Linked DNA regions of Homo sapiens: region 1 is linked to region 2. Evidence: promoter capture Hi-C in 16 types of primary human blood cells and fetal thymus (Javierre and others, 2016). All regions are on one chromosome and are shown on one strand. Each heading gives the region's core, a stretch centred on a gene start or on the middle of the fragment in contact. The rest is flanking DNA. Distances are from core to core; before and after follow the strand shown. Region 1 holds the start of AMT (aminomethyltransferase). Region 2 overlaps IHO1 (interactor of HORMAD1 1).

The links. The method cuts DNA at HindIII sites, captures the fragments that hold promoters and counts their contacts. A CHiCAGO score of 5 or more calls a contact.
Region 1: the fragment with the promoter of AMT here is called in contact with a fragment that was not itself captured in region 2 in 3 of 17 cell types (M0 macrophages, M1 macrophages and M2 macrophages); the score reaches 6.9 in M0 macrophages.

Annotation. Positions count from the first base shown.
Region 1 is chr3:49,420,781-49,424,734 of GRCh38, reverse strand. It overlaps AMT (aminomethyltransferase), which reads left to right and starts at 2,262. Exons shown (of 9, transcript NM_000481.4): 1 at 2,262-2,374; 2 at 2,464-2,631; 3 at 3,163-3,243. The coding sequence starts at 2,285. NICN1 (nicolin 1, tubulin polyglutamylase complex subunit) reads left to right here. Exons shown (of 6, transcript NM_032316.3): 6 at 1-2,402. RefSeq lists enhancers at 1,881-2,634, 2,635-3,387. The HindIII fragment of the contact is 5,136 bases long and covers 1-3,954 here.
Region 2 is chr3:49,248,139-49,252,586 of GRCh38, reverse strand. The region is part of intron 6 of IHO1 (interactor of HORMAD1 1); the gene reads right to left. It also overlaps the pseudogene GCSHP6. Among named protein-coding and RNA genes, the nearest start is that of MIR4271, 24 kb to the left of the region's middle. RefSeq lists an enhancer at 3,420-3,469. The HindIII fragment of the contact is 941 bases long and covers 2,678-3,618 here.

The DNA.
Region 1 (3,954 bases), core at 1,013-3,512, 170 kb before region 2:
TGCCTGCATGCCTGTTCTGTCTGGGCCACATTCACAGATTCAGGATTCTCAGGGGCTTACCGTGTTACTTCAGCATGAGCTCCTGGCATGGGGGTGCTCTGTCTTCGCCTGGCTGCAACTCAATTCTTCCTTCTACCCAAAAACACTCCAGTCAGTTGTACTTACTGAGAATCCCTGAGTGCCCTCTGCCCCTTCTGGCAACATGCACATTCCTGTCTTCTGCCTGCTCCCTCATGTCAGTGCAGTTGGGCTGGGCTGACCTACTAAAACCTGCTCCATGTATGGACCTGGAAGGCCATTGCTGCCATGGCACTTGGGACACTTGAGGAAGAAACAGAAACCTTATTTCTTCCTGTGTGTCCCCTAGTGGTTTTCTTTCCATTTGTGTTATGCCACAGAGAGAAATTTCCTGTCTGAACTCTTCTGCTGCCTGCCTAGGAAGGAAACCTGAAGATTTGGGCAGCCTGAGTCTCTTGGTTTCTGAGCTGGCTCCTGAATATATGTTCAAGTGGGTGTGCCCATAGGGCCTGGGCACGTGTCTCTAGCAAAACCAGGGCCTGAGCATAAGAACTGGGACCCTTCTAGGCAGGGTGCAGTGGCTCACGCCTGTAATCCCAGCACTTTGGGAGGCCCAGGCAGGCGGATCACCTGAGGTCAGGAGTTCAAGACCAGCCTGACCAACCTGGAGAAACCCCGTCTCTACTAAAAATACAAAAAATTAGCTGGGCGTGGTGGTAGGCACCTGTAATCCCAGCTACTTGGGAGGCTGAGGCAGGAGAATCTCTTGAACCCGGGAAGTGGAGGTTGCGGACCTGAGATCATGCCATTGCACTCCAGCCTGGGCAAGAAGAGCGAAACTCCATCTTAAACAAACAAACAAAAAAAAAAGAACTGGGACCCTTCTGCCATCTGACATAGCCCAAAGCACATCTCTATCCTTTCTCCCAGTTGCCCCTCTCCTTTTTTGTTGTTTTTTTTGAGGTTGAGTTTTGCTCTTGTTGCCCAGGCTGGAGTGCAATAGTGCAATCTTGGCTAACTGCAACCTCCGCCTCCCAGGTTCAAGCAATTCTCCTGCCTCAGTCTCCCGAGTAGCTGGGATTACAGTCATGCATCACCATGCCTGGCTAATTTTGTATTTGTAGTAGAGATGGGGTTTCTCCATGTTGGTCAGGCTGGTCTCAAACACCTGACCTCAGGTGATCTGCCTGCCTTGGCCTTCCAAAGTGCTGGGATTACAGGCATGAGCCACCGCGCCCGCCCTGCCCCTTTCCAAGAGATATGCTCAGCATAATGAGAGATCAACCGTGGTGGGGAGTGGGTCCAAGTAAGGGTTCTCATTGTTGCCTTTTAAGAGGCCTAAGTCCTGCATTAACTCAGTCCAACCATTAAGTGATGCAGGCTGCTCTTCCCTCATGTGAGAAAAACCTGTTTCCCTCTGGTTCTTCCTGGCTTTGCACCTGGTGGCTATTACAAAGCAGTACTGCAGTATGTCTTGGACCTGGAAAGTTGGACATGTGTGTGGCTCAACAGTTTTCTCGGGGGAGTTCAGTGACCTTTTGGTGGCCACCCTCTGTTCTCACCTGTGAGTTCTTGCAGGTGGCGACTTCATCTGCAAGGTCACTTACATAGCCCCACTCAGCTGCTTCGGAAAGCGTGACGAAGCAGTAGTCCTCAGTGTGTGTGTAAGTGAAGAGGACCTTGTGGTAGCAGGGACCATGCTTCATTCGTGGCTGTGTCCCCATCTGAGGGCCTGGTATGCAGTAAGATCAATAAATACTTGTGGAATGCATGACTGCTGGCTGCCTGTGTCTGCCTGGTGGGAGAGCTGTGGAACTAGGGGTCCACATGAGGACAGACTACTGTGGTGCTGCCTACCTGCCAGGCTGGCCCACCTTCCCCACCCCCACTTGACCTTACTCTCTTGAGGTCCTAAAGGTATGATTCAGACCTTTCAGCCCTTTCCAGAACTTTGACCCTCTGGAGACAGGGCGGTTCTGCAGGGGGCGGTCTAGCCCCTAGCTTTGTTCTGGGCAGCCCAATCAGCTCTGGATTGCCCGAGCTGCCCTGAAGAGTCAGCCGAAAGAGCTGGAGGCTTCTTCCCTGTGGTTGCGGGTTCCTGCATTCTCTGCTCTAAATCCCAGCCTGCCCTTGGGGCTGCCCACGCCCCCTTCAGATCCTTTGCTCCGGAGAGAGACCTGTCCGAGCAGAGGCCTGGACTACATCTCCCGGCGTGCCTGGCAGTGTGGTGGCCTCTGTGCGCCGTCTGCACTCGTTGCAGGCGACGATGCAGAGGGCTGTAAGTGTGGTGGCCCGTCTGGGCTTTCGCCTGCAGGCATTCCCCCCGGCCTTGTGTCGTCCACTTAGTTGCGCACAGGTGGGATAGAGGGTGCTGATCTTGGAGGGTGGGGGAGGGAAGCGGCTGGGGGCTAGGGCCCTGGTGGCACTAAGCCCAGCCGCCCACAGGAGGTGCTCCGCAGGACACCGCTCTATGACTTCCACCTGGCCCACGGCGGGAAAATGGTGGCGTTTGCGGGTTGGAGTCTGCCAGTGCAGTACCGGGACAGTCACACTGACTCGCACCTGCACACACGCCAGCACTGCTCGCTCTTTGACGTGTCTCATATGCTGCAGGTGAGCCAGGGGAGCACACTGGCCATCTGATCAGGCCTTCCTCCCTGTTTACAGTGGTCCACTCCTTGGCTTTGTTTGCTGTGAACTGGATTCCAAGGACAGCCTTCTCAGAAGAGCTAGAGGTCATGGGGGTGTCATGGATAGGTCAATGGCCCCAAGGAAATGAGCTCAGAGGGTCTCATCATCTCATCCTTCTAGCTTGCCCCCATTAAATGGTGTGCCTTAATGTCCCGGGTTTTCCAGGGCTGACACCCACTCTCATGTATTGGGCTGGATGTTGGTTTGAAAAGGGGTTATTTCAGGAAGGTGCTAGGTCCTGTCCAGTTCCCTGGCAGTCCCCCCACACAGAGTGACTGGGGGAGGTCAGGAAATCAGAAGGTGGTCCTTTGCCACGTGTAGAACCAAAAGACTGGTTAGTCACTTTGGGTGGGCTGGACTGCACTGTGGATGGCAGGGAGGATGCATCCTTGCTTAGTAGCCTTTTGGATTGTAGCTGTTGCAATGGCCTGAGGCTTTCAATCTCTTCCCCAGACCAAGATACTTGGTAGTGACCGGGTGAAGCTGATGGAGAGTCTAGTGGTTGGAGACATTGCAGAGCTAAGACCAAACCAGGTGGGCCCTTTTATTTCTGCTCTATGAGTTTTCTTAGTCATGAGCCAGCAAATGGGCTGAGTCCCTACCTCAGGCTTAGGGGCACAGAGATGAGTCAAACACAGCTTCTCAGGGCTTGCAGTCTTGGACAGAATCCCTGAGTCATTTCCAGAGACACAGACATTTGTAGGGAGGGGAATATCCCAGTCTTACTACATCAGGCTAGGAGGCCAGAAACCAAGGTTAATATGCTGCTCTCTGGCCATCCCTTCTGCTTAACCCCTCTCTATTCAACATGTGGTCCCTGGCCAGGCGACGTGACTCAAACACCTGTAATCCTGGCACTTGGGGAGGCCAAGGCGGGTGGATCACCTGAGGTCAGGAGTTCGAGACCAGCCTGGCCAACATGGCAAAACCTCGTTTCTACTAAAAACACAAAAATTAGCCGGGCGTGGTGGCGCGTGCTTGTAGTCCCAGCTACTCGGGAGGCTGAGGTTGCAGCAAGCTGAGGTTGCACCACTGCACTCTGGCCTGGGCAACAGAGTGAGACTCAGTCTAAAAAGAAAAATAACAACAACAAAGTGTGGTCTCTAAACCAGCATCTTTGGAGCTTGTTAGGAATATAGTCTCAGGCACTGCTGCAGACCTGCTGAATCAGAACCTTCATTTTAACAAGATCCCCAGGTGATTCATGTGACCCCCTCAACCTCAGGCTTTTTGTCCATCCAGTGG
Region 2 (4,448 bases), core at 1,899-4,398:
ATTAGCTGGGTGGGGTGGTATGTGCCTGTGGTCCTAGCTACTCGGGAGGCTGAGGTGGGAGAATTGCTTGATCCCAGGAGGTCAAAGCTACAGTCAGCTGTGATTGTGCCACTGCACTCCAGTTTTGATGACAGAGGGAGAACCTATCTCAAAAATAAAAAAAAAGAAAAGAAAAAAGCAGTAAGAAATGGTACATTTTATGTTATGTGTATTTTTACCACAATTTTTAAAAAGTGGGTCCAGGGCTGTGCCACCCCACTGGCAATGCTGGCTGCCTTCTGGAAACTGCATATGCCTCACTCCCTCAGTGTGTAAATTCACAAACACTAATGGATAACAACAGAAAATGGCATGAAAACAGTAGGAATCAGCAATTTTGCACAGGAAGTTTTGGGAAATGTTTACTGTAGTCTCCCTGCAGTTGGGAAAAAATTGAACAAACAAGATGAATTTGGTGGCAGGGCGTGGTGGCTCACGCCTGTAATCTCAGCACTTTGGGAGGCCGAGGCGGGTGGATCACCTGAGGTCGGGAGTTCGAGACCAGCCTGACCAACATGGAGAAACCCGGCCTCTACTAAAAATACAAAATTAGCCGGGTGTGGCGGCAGATGCCTGTAATCCCAGCTACTCGGGAGGCTGAGGCAGGAGAATCTCTTGATATAATCTCGTGATATAAAAACTAAGTAGGCCAGGCACGGTAGCTCCGCCCGTAATCCCAGCACTTCGGGTGGCCGACGCGGGCAGATCAGCTGAGATCAGGAGTTTGAGAACAGCCTGACCAACATGGAGAAACCCCGTCTCTACTAAAAATACAAAAATTAGCAGTGCGTGGTGTCGCATGCCTGTAGTCCCAGCTACTCGGGAGGCTGAGGCAGGAGAATCGCTTGAACCCGGGAGGCAGAGGTTGCGGTGAGCCGAGATCGCGCCATTGCACTCCAGCCTGGGCAACAAAAGCAAAACTCCATCTCAAAAAAAAAGACAAAAAAACCAACAACTAAGTAAAGTCTGAGCGCAGCAGCTCACACCAGTAATCCCAGCACTTTGGGGAGGCCAAAGCTGGCGGATCACAAGGTCTGGAGATCAAGACCTTCCTGGCCAACATGGTGAACCCCGTCTCTACTAAAAATACAAAAATTAGCTGGGCATGGTGATGCACGCCTGTAGTCCCAGCTACTCAGGAGGCTGAGGCAGGAGAAACACTTGAACCCAGGAGGCAGAGGTTGCAGTGAGCTGAGATTGTGCCACTACACTCCAGCCTGGCGACAGAGAGAGACTCCACCTCAAAAAAAAAAAAAAAAATTAGCCAGGCATGGTGGCATGTGCCTGTAGTCCCAGCTACTCAGGAGGCTGAGACAGGAGAACTGCTTGAACCTAGGAAGGGGAGGTTGCAGTGAGCTGAGATCGCACCACTGCACTCCAGCCTGTGTGACAGAGAGAGACTCTGTCTCAAAACAAACCAACCAACCAACAAACAAAAACTAAGTAAAATATATTGAGACGTGAAAATGGAACCGCTAAACTAACATGAAACAATTTAATCTAGCATAGTTTTTTTATTTTTTTGAGATGGAGTCTTACTCTGTCGCCCAGGCTGGAGTGCAGTGGCGCGATCTTGGCTCACCGCAACCTCTGCCTCCAGGGTTCAAGCGATTCTCCTGCCTCAGCCTCCTGAGTAGCTGGAGGCATGCGCCACCACGCCCGGCTAATTTTTGTATTTGTAGTAGAGACGGGGTTTTACCATGTTGGTCAGGCTGGTCTCCTACTTCTGATCTTGTGATCTGCCCGCCTCGGCCTCCCAAAGTGCTGGGATTACAGGCGTGAGCTGCTGTGTCTGGCCCAAAGAATTTTTTAGAAAGCAAATTTTCCCATATTTCTCACCACAGGTACAAGTTCAATTCCATGTGTCAATCAATTAGAAAGAGGCTATTTACTTAGGTATTGGATTCCTGCTCCTAAACCCAATTAGTCAAATATTCTTCAGACATCCATGTAGATATTTATAGTAGAGAGCAAATGTAATTATCCTTCCATAGAGAAGTTCCTAAATAGTAATGTTTCTTAGCAACAGTGGGCATTACTGACCCTCACAAAAGCAGAGCATGAGAAAGGCAAGCAAAGTGTTTGATTCTGGATTAAGTGCTCAGAAAGCATCCATCTGAGGTCCCATACATTCAGTTCTTGTCCCCAGGGCAACATATGTTTGGCGTCTTCTCTTTTATAGGAGCTTTTGTATCAAACTCATTACATTCAAAGTCTATCCATATTTTTTCTTTTAAAAAAATTTAGTTATGAAAATAACTGAAAACCATAATAGTATAAAAAGGCATACATTGAAAAATGATTGAATCTCTCCTCTGCAAACCTTGGTCTCTCTTCCTGGATTTAACATTATCATCGGTTTCTGGAATTTTACATTAATACGTGTGCATATCTGTATATACATTATAGGTCCTGTGTTTGTTTGTGTATGTGTGTCTAGAAGAGTATTTATTTCATTTTTGCTTTGACTATAAACATTAGATATTTTTAGCTTTTATGTAAAAATGCCATTTAAAATCCATTTCCATATTCTGGACAATATCTGTTTTCCTGTTAAGATGATTTTTAAACAATTTGTTTTTATTTTAGCAACTTGGTAAGGCCTCAATTGAGATGAGATCAGATTGTGATGCAAGCTTTTCCCCGGATGGCCAGTGATTTTCCTTTTACTCTGTAGTTTTATTCTCCCTCAGGTGCTGATGAGAGCCTAACAAAAGATCTGGCAGCCTCCTTGTATAAGATGAGACCACCTCCAACTTTTTTAGGGATACTCTTCCCAGTTTTCACTGGCTGGTCACACTTTCCAACAAGATGTATCCTGGAGCACGCGAAGAGCACCTTTTTGTTGTTTTAATTTAACAATGAACAGATATTTCCATTCTACCATATTCATATAGATGGATCTCACTCTTCTTAACAATTATATCTATTTTGCTTAGAAAGGCTTTTCCCATTCTAAAATTATAAAAATGTTGTCCATGGCCGGGCGTGGTGGCTTACACCTATAATCTCAGCACTTTGGGAGGCTGAGGTAGGTGGATATGAGGTCAAGAGTTTGAGACCATCCTGGCTAACATGGTGAAACCTTGTCTCTACTAAAAATATAAAATTTAGCTGGGCGTGGTGGTGTGTGCCTATAGTCCCAGCTACTTGGGAGGCTGAGGCAGGAGAATCGCTTGAACCCGGGAGGCAGAGGCTGCAGTGAGCCAAGATCACGCCACTGCACTTCAGCCTGGGTGACAGAGCGAAACTCCATCTCAAAAAAAAAAAAATGTTGTCCATGTTTTCTTCTAGTTCTTTTTATAATTTATCACCAGACTTAACATATGAGGTAAAGTAGTATACAAGAGGCTTTGGTAATTAACTTTATTACTGTGGTCCTTAGTGTCCTCAGCTGAAGAACAGGAAGAGTTAGATTAGATGGCCACAGTGACCCTTCTGGCTGGGCAGGCTGACTGGGAAAATATTTAATGACCTCATCTGTGAAGGCACCAATTACATAACAACACAGACAGCACTTTCACACAGTATCTTTACTTCCCTATTCCCTGATGAGCACATGAGTAGAGACTGAAAGCTTGCAGAATGCACTGAGGTGGAGTTCAATGCTCTAGAATAGCTGGACTGGACCTGGCCATATGCTAGAGGATTTGTCTGGTTCCTCTCTCAATGATTAATTTTCTGCTCATCATCATTTCCTACCAAGAAAGAGAATTATTCTGGATAGGCTACTTGTGCTCATTTTCAAGAATGACCTGTCCTAATTCATGTGATACTGCTGTGTCTGTTACTGAGTCTTTTTTCTTTCTTTTTCTTTTTTGAGACAGAGTTTCGCTCTTGTTGCCCAGGCTGGAGTGCTATGGCGCAATCTCAGCTCACTGAAACCTCTGCCTCCCAGGTTCAAGTGATTCTCCTGCCTCCCAAGTAGCTAGGATTAAAGGCCTGCACCAGCACGCCTGGCTAATTTTGTATTTTTTTTTTAGTAGAGATGGGTTTTCACCATATTGGTCAGGCTGGTCTCAAACTCCTGACCTCAAGTGATCCACCCACCTCGGCCTCCCAAAGTGCTGGGATTACAAGTGTGAGTCACTGTGCCTGGGCTTTTGTTTTGTTTTGTTTTGTTTTGTTTTTGAGAGAGTCTGGTTCTATCGCCCAGGCTGGAGTGCAGTGGCAGGATCTCGGCTCACTGCAACCTCCCCATCCTGGGTTCACGTCATTCTGCCTCAGCCTCCTGAGTAGCTGGGACTACAGGTGCCCGCCACCACGCCCAGCTAATTTTTTGTATTTTTAGTAGACATGGGGTTTCACCGTGTTAGCCAAGATGGTCTTGATCTCCTGACCCCGTGATCTGCCCGCCTTGGCCTCCCAAAGTGCTGGGATTACAGGCGTGAGCCACCACACCTGGCCTT